Linked DNA regions of Homo sapiens: region 2 is linked to region 1. Evidence: promoter capture Hi-C in human tissues and cell types (Jung and others, 2019). All regions are on one chromosome and are shown on one strand. Each heading gives the region's core, a stretch centred on a gene start or on the middle of the fragment in contact. The rest is flanking DNA. Distances are from core to core; before and after follow the strand shown. Region 1 holds the start of PRRT4 (proline rich transmembrane protein 4). Region 2 has its middle 20 kb from the start of HILPDA.

Region 1 (4,210 bases), core at 1,598-4,097:
CAGCCTTGCCTCTGGGAGTTTGGAGAAAATTATGTCCTTCCCCAGAGTTTGTCCTAAGGAAGTCACTGTCCCAGGAATTGTAGCCACATGCTAAGCTCATGTACACCATGAGCTAAGCTACAAAGAGCAAACCAGATTCAGTATGGCAAAGAGAATACTCCTTCCGTGGAAGTAGTAGCCCATATCCTAGGGCCTGGAAGAAGCAATGCAAGAAAGTAAAAAAAGAAAGGTACTTGTTAGGCTCCTAGCACAGCGCTTGGCACGTAGAGTGTTCCACAATAGTTTATTGCAATGAAATAAACTCACCCAGAGAACCCGAAACTCCAGAGGCAGAGCTTGTGGATGTAGTTTCACCTGGGGGGCTCAGGCCGGAGAAGTTCCGGAGTGGGGACAGAGTAGTGCCAAAGAATCCTGCAAAAGAAGCCCAGGCTGAAGCTGCCTCCTACCTGCCAGGGGTGCCCAGCAGGGGCTTTCCTTGGGATGGGGTGGTTACTCACCAAAGGGTCCCAGGCGCCCAGCAATCTCTGCCAGGCTGGCCCGCAGGCTGGGCAGCAGGGGCAGCGTTCGATGCCCAAGCGTGGGGGCTGCACCTGCTCTCAGTGCCATGTCAAACTTCAGCTCCAGCTCGCTCTGGTGGGGCCTGGGAGCACTGGATGGAAGTGCTGTCACCATCAGAGCAGTGTCCCAGGTCACAGTGCTCCTCCTGGGCTGATAGGGGGCAGTGGGCCCATCGCTGGGCCCAGAGCGCCGGGATGTGGACTCCGGAAGCAGGGAGGAGGCCCGGGGCTTTGAGCCACCTTCGGTGGAGCCCCACTCAGTGAGAGAGTTCCCTGAGGAGCCCACCAGCAATTCCCAAAGGGGGTCAGTCCTCAGCCCACTGGCCACCTCTTCCCCTGGCTCCTGGCCTGGCCCAAGAGAGAGTGGCTGGGTCTCTGTGACTGGGCTCCCCCAGACAGCAGCAGGTCCCCGAAGATGGAATTTGAAGTTAAGTCCCAGGTTGAGAGACAGCATAGAGGCCTCACTTTGAGGTACGGGGGTCAAAGTGGTGGCAGGGGCACCTGGGATGGAGGGGGTGGGCTGGGGGCCCACAGTAGCAGCAAACAGGACGCAGCAGAACAGTCCCAGCCCTAGACAGCCATGCCTGGCCATGGCCCCACCTGGCTTCGGGTGGCCTTGGTGGGCAGGGACTCAGTTGTTCAGCAGCTTTTGAGGAGGAAGGTCCTGGAGAGAGGAGAGGCCCTGTGAGCCCTGGCTGTGGCCCCCCTCTTCCCTTTCCCAGGATCGGATGTCCCAGAGAGAGGCTTCTGATCTCAGAGAAGCAGGTAGTGTGGGCAGGATGCAAAGTGTCCTGTCCATGGCTCTGGCTCTTCTTGCCGGGCCCTTCCTGTACCTTCAGGCCCCAGCACAAATCCCTGCCTGGGGGTTCCTCCTTCCCCCTCTGCTCATGCAGAAGCTGGGGTCTGACTGCAACCAGGGGCCCTCATCCTTAACTAGTAGCAAAAGGGATGGACTTGGGCTTCCAGACATGGATTCCTCTCTTCCTTCCCTCTGCTGAGCCTCAAGTCTTTACGCAGGCTTACCGTTTGCCAAGCACCCTTCTGGGCATATAACTGTGAACAAGCAAGCCCTTCCGATGTCTTGACCTATTCCAACCCCCACCTCCCGCCCCAGCCAGAAGTGCTGGCGCCCTCACTCTCAGACCCCAGGGGGCACAGGGCCTCGGGAGGGGTAAAGCCAGAGCTGAGTGATCTGGCCCAGTCAGAAGGCCGCCCAGGCTCTGGCCAGAGAAGCAAGGTTCCCAATCTGGCAGAAGCACCCTCCCTCCCGCCCCTCCCGTTTCCTGGGGCTGGGCCTGTTCCCTTCCCTAGGACCCTTGAAGTATTCGGGGGAGGGGCAGCTTGGCGATCTCCGGCTTCCTGGAGGAGAACGCCAGGCAGGCAAGCTGGGCGAACTGCAGGCAGCTGCGGCGGACTCCTACCCCCTCCCCAGAACTCTCTCCTCTGTGCGCACACATCTGGTGGGGGAAGGGAGGGTGAGCCAGGGACACACATGCACCCGGCACCCTTACATCACACACATAGCCACATCTAGCGCCCGTGACACACTCACCCGTCACATACCCCCCTGCCCCTGCACGCGCGCGCGCACACACACACACACACTCCGTCCTGCCGAGCCACTCTCCTCCCTGCATGGGTTCAAACCCAAGCTCTGTGAGCCCCCGGCCTCCCCTGTCTCTCTCTCTCTCTCTCTCTCTCTCTCACACACACACACACACACACACACACACACACACACGGCATGTACTGTACAGAGATGCACACCCCCTACACACATTCACACACACAGACATGCCACACACCGCCATCCCCCCACACTCGTACACGCCCACCACCCCTCGCAGGCACACATGCACACACGCGCGCGCACACGCACACACACCCCCAGCCCGGACCGGCCGACCTGCTCCCCGGGGTCTCTCCCGCAGGCAGGTCTCCTCGCCGAGCCTCCGAAAAGGGGCGGTCGTGGCGGCCCTGGCGCCCAGCTGGGCAACGCTTCGTGGTATCTCACCGCTTCTCTCTGTTGTGCCCAGCGCCCCGACTGAAGATCCGGACCTCCAGCCCCCGGCGGCCCCTCGCCTAGTCCAGAGACCGCAGCCTCGCCGCCCCGCTGCCCCTGAGCCGCCCCCGGCCCAGCCCCGGCCCGCAGCGCTCTCACCAGGCGGGCGGCCAGGCCCCGCGCTCCGCACTCCGCACTCCGCGCTCCCTCCCAGCGGCGCCGCCTCCTGGCTCCGAGCCTCGCTCCCCGGCGAAGCCGCCCGCGCCGGGGCTCCGCGGCAGCCGGCTCTGACGGCCCTCCCGTCCGCCCGCCCTCGCTCCCGCGCCCTCTCTCCTCCTCCTCCTCCTCCTCCTCCCACCCAGCCCGCCACCCGCGGTCCCCCCACACCCGGGCGGGCAGGCAGGCGCTCACAGCAGCGCGGAGCCGCGGCCACCTCGGTGCCGGGCGCCTCCACGCGCGCTCATTCACCCAGCGCTGTCAATCAGCCGCGGCGGGCGCCTCGCTGTGAGCCTGGCGAGAGCAATCACACACTCCCAGGGCGGCCCAGCACACACATCCACACGCGCGCCAGGAAACACACTCGCAGGTCAGAGGGCGCGCGCACACACGCGCACACATGGCAGCCTGCCCCAGGATGGCACCCCGGGCAATAAGAGTCCCACCGTTTGCTAAGTAGAAGTACAATGGACAATTCTACTTCCTTTATCTCATGAGTCCTCACCGCAACCCTGTGTATGTCGCCACTTTGCAGACAATTAAATGAAGACACAGAAAATTACCGAATTTGCCCAAGATTGCACAGCTTGGTAGAAACTCGAACCGTCTCCCTGCCGGCCCTCTCCACCACCTGGTGGTTTTCAACAGTTGCACTGCTACACAGCAGTGCCTCCAACACTTCACCGGTGAACTGCCAAATGCCAATCCCTGTGTGACATGTCTTTTCGCTAAAACTGATCTCTCAAAAATACTGTTTCAGAAATGTCTGCCAGAAAGAATGGTGAGCTAAGCTGCTTGTGAGAAGTGGATTACAACTGGTTTCTAGTAAGAGGTGTGAGGAGAACAGTAAAATCAAAGGCTGGGTTCAGTGGTTCACGCCTGTAATTCTAACACTTTGGGAGGCTGAGGCAGGCTGATCGCTTGAGCCCCGGGGTTCAAGAACAGCCTGGGCAACATAGCAAAAGATAAAATAAAAACAAACAAACAGCAAGCAAGCAAGCAAGCAAGCAAGAAAAAAAGAAGAAAGAAAGAAATTATCTGGGCGTGATGGGGTATGGTGGCAGACACCTGTAGTCCCAGCTATTTGGGAGGCTGAGACTGGAGGATTGCTTGAGCCTGGGAGGTGGAGGTTGCCGTGAGCTGTGATCATACCGCTACACTCCAGCCTGGGCAACAGAGCAAGACCCTGTCTCAAAAGGAAAAACAAAGAAAAAAGAGCGTGCCCCTTCACAGAAAGTAAGAGAGCTCAGGCAAAAGCTGACACAGGTTGAAGATGACCAAGAAAACCGAGCAGTCACTATGTATACTTCATGGAACCTGTTAAGTTGTAGTAGTGACTAACTGAAGTACTACTGACTCATTCATGTGGTTTTGAGTCTCTAAATCCCTTCATGTTTTCTTCAAACAATGATAGTAATTTAAAAGTATCAGAACA
Region 2 (4,562 bases), core at 1,504-4,003, 74 kb after region 1:
GGAGTCGTTTTGTGACACAATGACTCAGTTATGCATTCAACTTTCGGTCAGCAAATATTTATTTATTTATTTTTTAAAACTAGAACATTTGTCACATGACTAGTCACTGAAATTCTTAAGATGAACTGGATGCTGCAACGGCTACCCTCTTGGGTTTAGGTGTGTTCCTTTTCGGAATCTGTGCCTCAGTCTGTGGCAAACAATTTTTAGGTGTCTCATTCAACAAGTTCTGGTGGTATTTCGCCATTTAGCCTTGGCACCCAGTTATATTTCCTCTTGTGTTTGGCAGGGTAGCCACATTTGCCACAGGTCGTCTTCTGGAGGTGGTGGGCCTTAGAGCCACAGTGGTGGCACAATGTGTGTGTCTTACTGTGATGCTTTCCAAACGATGAGATTCCCTTCATCATCTCACTTCTGCAGCTGAGACCAAACAGACTGGAAGATAAGGCACTTCCACTACATCTGGTCAGCAAATATTTATTGAACACTTACTATGCGTCAGACACCATGTTCCTCATGGCTTCCCCTAAAGCTCCATGTAGGAAAATTAAGCATGAGGGTAACTGATTGAAGGGTCTCAGAAAAACAAACCTTTGTGGCTAACATCCCTCCTCCTGGCCACCTGCAAGATTTAGCACTGATTACCCATCTTCAAACCCCTTGTATTAATCTGTTCTCACACCACTATAAAGAACAGCTGGAGACTGGGTAATTTATAAAGAGGTTTAATTGACTCACAGTTCCTCATGGCTGTGGAGGCCTCAGGAAACTTACAATCATGGTGGAAGGGGAAGCAAACACATCCTTCTTCACCTGGTGGCAGCAAGAAGTGTGGGAGAAGCCCCTAAGAAAACCATCAGTTCTCATGAGAACTCACTCACTATTTTGAGAACAGCAGCATGGGGGTAACTGCCCCATGATTCAATTACCTCCCACCAGGTCCCTCTGAGGACACATGGGGATTATGGGAACTACAATTCAAGATGAGATTTGGGTGGGGACACAGCCAACCCATATAATCCCTCTTAAAAATAATGCATTCTATCTAGGCTGCTGTAGCGGTTCACACCTGTAATCCCAGTGCTTTGGGAGGCTGAGGTGGAAGGAACACTTGAGGCTAGGAGTTTGAGACCAGCCTGTGCAACCAAGCAAGACCCTGTCTCTACAAACAAAAAAATTTAATTAGCTGGGCACAGTGGTACGTACCTGTAGTTCCAGCTACTGGGAGTGGGGCAGGGTGCTGACTCAGGAGGATCACTTGAGCCCAGGAGGTTGAAGGTGCAAGCTATGATTGCACCACTGCACTCCAGCCTGGGCAACAGAGAGATACCCTGTCTCTAAAAGTAAGTAAGTAAATACATAAAATAAATAAATAAAGCTGGGTGTGGTGACTCACACATTTAATCCCAACACTTTGGGAGGCCAAGGCAAGAGGATCACTTGAACTTGGAAGTTCAAGACCAGACTGGGTAACACTGAGACCCTGTCTCTATAAATAAAAAAATAAAAAAATTAAAATTAAAAAATACAACTAGTGCATTCTGATTGGGTCAAGGTTCTAATTTACCCAGAGAGGTCATACATCAATTATCTAATAGCATAGGAATTCCATTATCTGATTAACTCATCTTCTGTCTACAGCCATACCACCCTGAATGCCTGATCTTGTCTGATTAACTCATCTTCTGGAGCACATGGATCCATAATGGGCTCCAGTGGGGCTGAGAACACTAGAAATTATCTGCGTTTGTATCTGTACTATTTCCCCCTGGATTCAATTTCAGGCAGTATAGGAACTAGATAATCAGACAGTATTCCCACCTAAAGCATGACAAACATTCCTTTAAATGCATAGCAGAGCTTGAGGGTGGAGGAGGAAGGGAAAGCTACAGGGACAACAAACAAACAAACAAAGCAAAGAAATGAGAACCCTGAAGCTGTGGCTGGATTTGGGTGGGCGGGGACGGGGAGGGGGCTGTTCAGTAATGTTAATAACCAAAGCCTGGCATAAAGCTGGGGCCCATCAACAAAAGGGGGAGAAAGGGAAAATGTATCTGCTTCAGCCATAATTCTGGACCTGAAAAAACATTTCCACTGAGAATTTGCAATCCTGGGCTTCAGGCGTATTTGCAAACAGAATGCATACTGTGCCTGGTATGGGCAAACACAAGATCAAACATGAACAAACATTAGCGGTGGATTGTTAGTTCCTTGAAGAAGCTTTGCGCAAAGCTTCTCTGGAGGAGCTGCAGTTAACCCAGGCTATGTATGATTCCCACACAAAAAGTTTGGACAAGTAAAGCTCAAATGCAAAAAATAAATCACACAGAAACAAGCCTACATGAGCAAATGCCAGCATACCCAAGAAACAGCTGCATAATATCCTTTCCATTTTCCTATAACAGAATTATTAGGTATGAAGTAAAAAATAAGAATTTAAAAAATGTTTACAGAAAAATAAAAATAAACTGAAAACATGACAAAGGAGCCATATGCTATCAAAACAGATGAGATTTGAAAAAAATAAATCAATAGAACATCTAAAACTGAAAGCCACGATAATCAAAATTAAAAACTCAATGGGCAAGTTAAACAACAGATTAGATAGGACAGAAGACAGAATTAGTGAATTAAAAAAAATACAGAAACAAAAATAGGCCAAACCCCCTCCCCTACAAGATATAAAAAGTTATATAGAATGAAGCAGAGAGGGCCAAAAACTTGGAAAATATGAAGGAAATATTAAGAGACATGAAGACCAGACTGAGTAAGATGAACATGCATCCAATTGAAGTACTGTAAGAAGAAAACAGAATAGAGAGAGGCAATATTCTAAGAGATAGTGGCTGGAATTGTCCAGAAGCAATGAATGACATAAAACCCTCACCTTCTATCATCAAGGAAGCTAGATGACAAAGGAATATTTTTAAATGTATAACAGTAAATAACAAGTCGGGCATGGGAGCTCACACCTGTAATCCCAGCACTTTGGGAGGCTGAAGCAGGCAGCTTGTTTGAGCCCAGGAGTTTGAGACCAGCCTAGGCAACATGGTGAAACCCCTTGTCTACCAAAAAAAAAAAAAAAAATTAGCCAGGCATGGTGGAGCATGCCTGTAGTCCCAGCTACCTGGCAGGCTGAGGTGGGAGGATTGCTTGAGCCTGGGAGGCAGAGGTTGCAGTGAGCTGAGATCACATAACTACAATTCAGCCTGGTTAACAGAGCAAAAACCCTGTCTCAAAAAAAAAAAAAAGTAAATAACTAGCAAACTAGAATTTTATACTTAATCAAGATAACATTTAAAAGAAAGAGGACCTATGGAATGGGAGAAGTATTTGCAAATCATGTATCTGATAAGAGACTTGTATCCAGAAGTTCTTTATATAAAGAACTTCTACAACTCAAAAATAAAAAGTCATATAACCTGATTTGAAAATAGGCACAGGATTTTTTTTTTTTTTTTTTGAGATGGAGTTTCGCTCTTGTTGCCCAGGATGGAGTGCAATGGCACAATCTCGGCTCACTGCAACCTCCGCCTCCCAGGTTCAAGCAGTTCTCCTGCCTCAGCCTCCCTTGTAGCTGGGATTACAGGCGCCCACCACCACGCCCAGCTAAATTTTTTGTATATTTAGTAGAGACGGGGTTTCACTATGTTGGCCAGGGTGGTCTCGAACTCCTGACCTCTGGCGATCCACTCACCTCAGCCTCCCAAAGTGCTGGGATTACAGGCGTGAGCCATCGTGCCCAGCCACTTTTTTTTTTTTTTTTTAAGACAGAGTCTTGCTCATCACCCAGGCTGGAGTGCAGTGGGGTGATCTCGGCTCACTGCAGCTTCTGTCTCCCGGGTTCAAGCAATTCTCCTGCCTCAGCCTCCCAAGTAGCTGGGATTACAGGTGCCTGCGACCATGCCCGGCTACAACTGGGTGAAGAATTTGAATAAACATTTCTCCAAAGGAGGCTTACAAATAGCCAATATGCAGATAAAAAGATGTTCAACATCATTAGTCATTAGGGAAATACAAATGAAATCCACAATGAGATACTACTTAACAACCACCAGGCTGGCTAAAATTTAAAAAAGTAAAGACAATAACAAGTGTTGACAGGATGTGGGGAAACTGGAACCTTTATATATTGCTGGTAGAATTACAGAATGATGCAGCCACTCTGGAAAACAGTTTGGCAATTCCTCAAAATATTAAACACAGAGATACCACATAACCCAGCAGTTCTACTCCTAGTTGTAGATCCAAGAGAACTGAAAACATATATCTACACAAAAACATGTACACAAATGTTCATATCAGCCTTATTCATAATAGCTAGGGTGGAAACTACCCAAATGTCCATCAGTTGATGAATGGGTAAACAAAATGTGGTATATCCATACAACAGAATATTACTTGAACATGAATGAAATTCTGATACAAGCTACAACATAGATGAAACTTGAGAACGCTGTGCAAGTTGGAAGAAACTAAGGCAGGAGAATAGCAGAGCAAGCTGGGGGCGAAGCGGATCCTTGGACGTAAGTTAGCTTAAGCAGTAGCAAAAGCAAAACATG

The links. Contacts are between HindIII fragments. The study calls those that stand out against the background at their distance.
Region 2: a fragment that was not itself captured here is called in contact with the fragment with the promoter of PRRT4 in region 1 in 7 of the 25 tissues and cell types used here (IMR-90 fibroblasts, adrenal gland, aorta and 4 more).

The regions. Positions count from the first base shown.
Region 1 is chr7:128,358,843-128,363,052 of GRCh38, forward strand. PRRT4 (proline rich transmembrane protein 4) reads right to left here and starts at 2,848. Exons shown (of 6, transcript NM_001174164.2): 1 at 2,719-2,848; 2 at 2,464-2,580; 3 at 498-1,221; 4 at 307-411. The coding sequence starts at 1,149. RefSeq lists enhancers at 176-1,045, 1,046-1,914, 1,915-2,783. The HindIII fragment of the contact is 21,921 bases long and covers 1-4,210 here.
Region 2 is chr7:128,433,307-128,437,868 of GRCh38, forward strand. It overlaps the pseudogene RPL37P16. Among named protein-coding and RNA genes, the nearest start is that of HILPDA, 20 kb to the right of the region's middle. The HindIII fragment of the contact is 6,008 bases long and covers 1-4,562 here.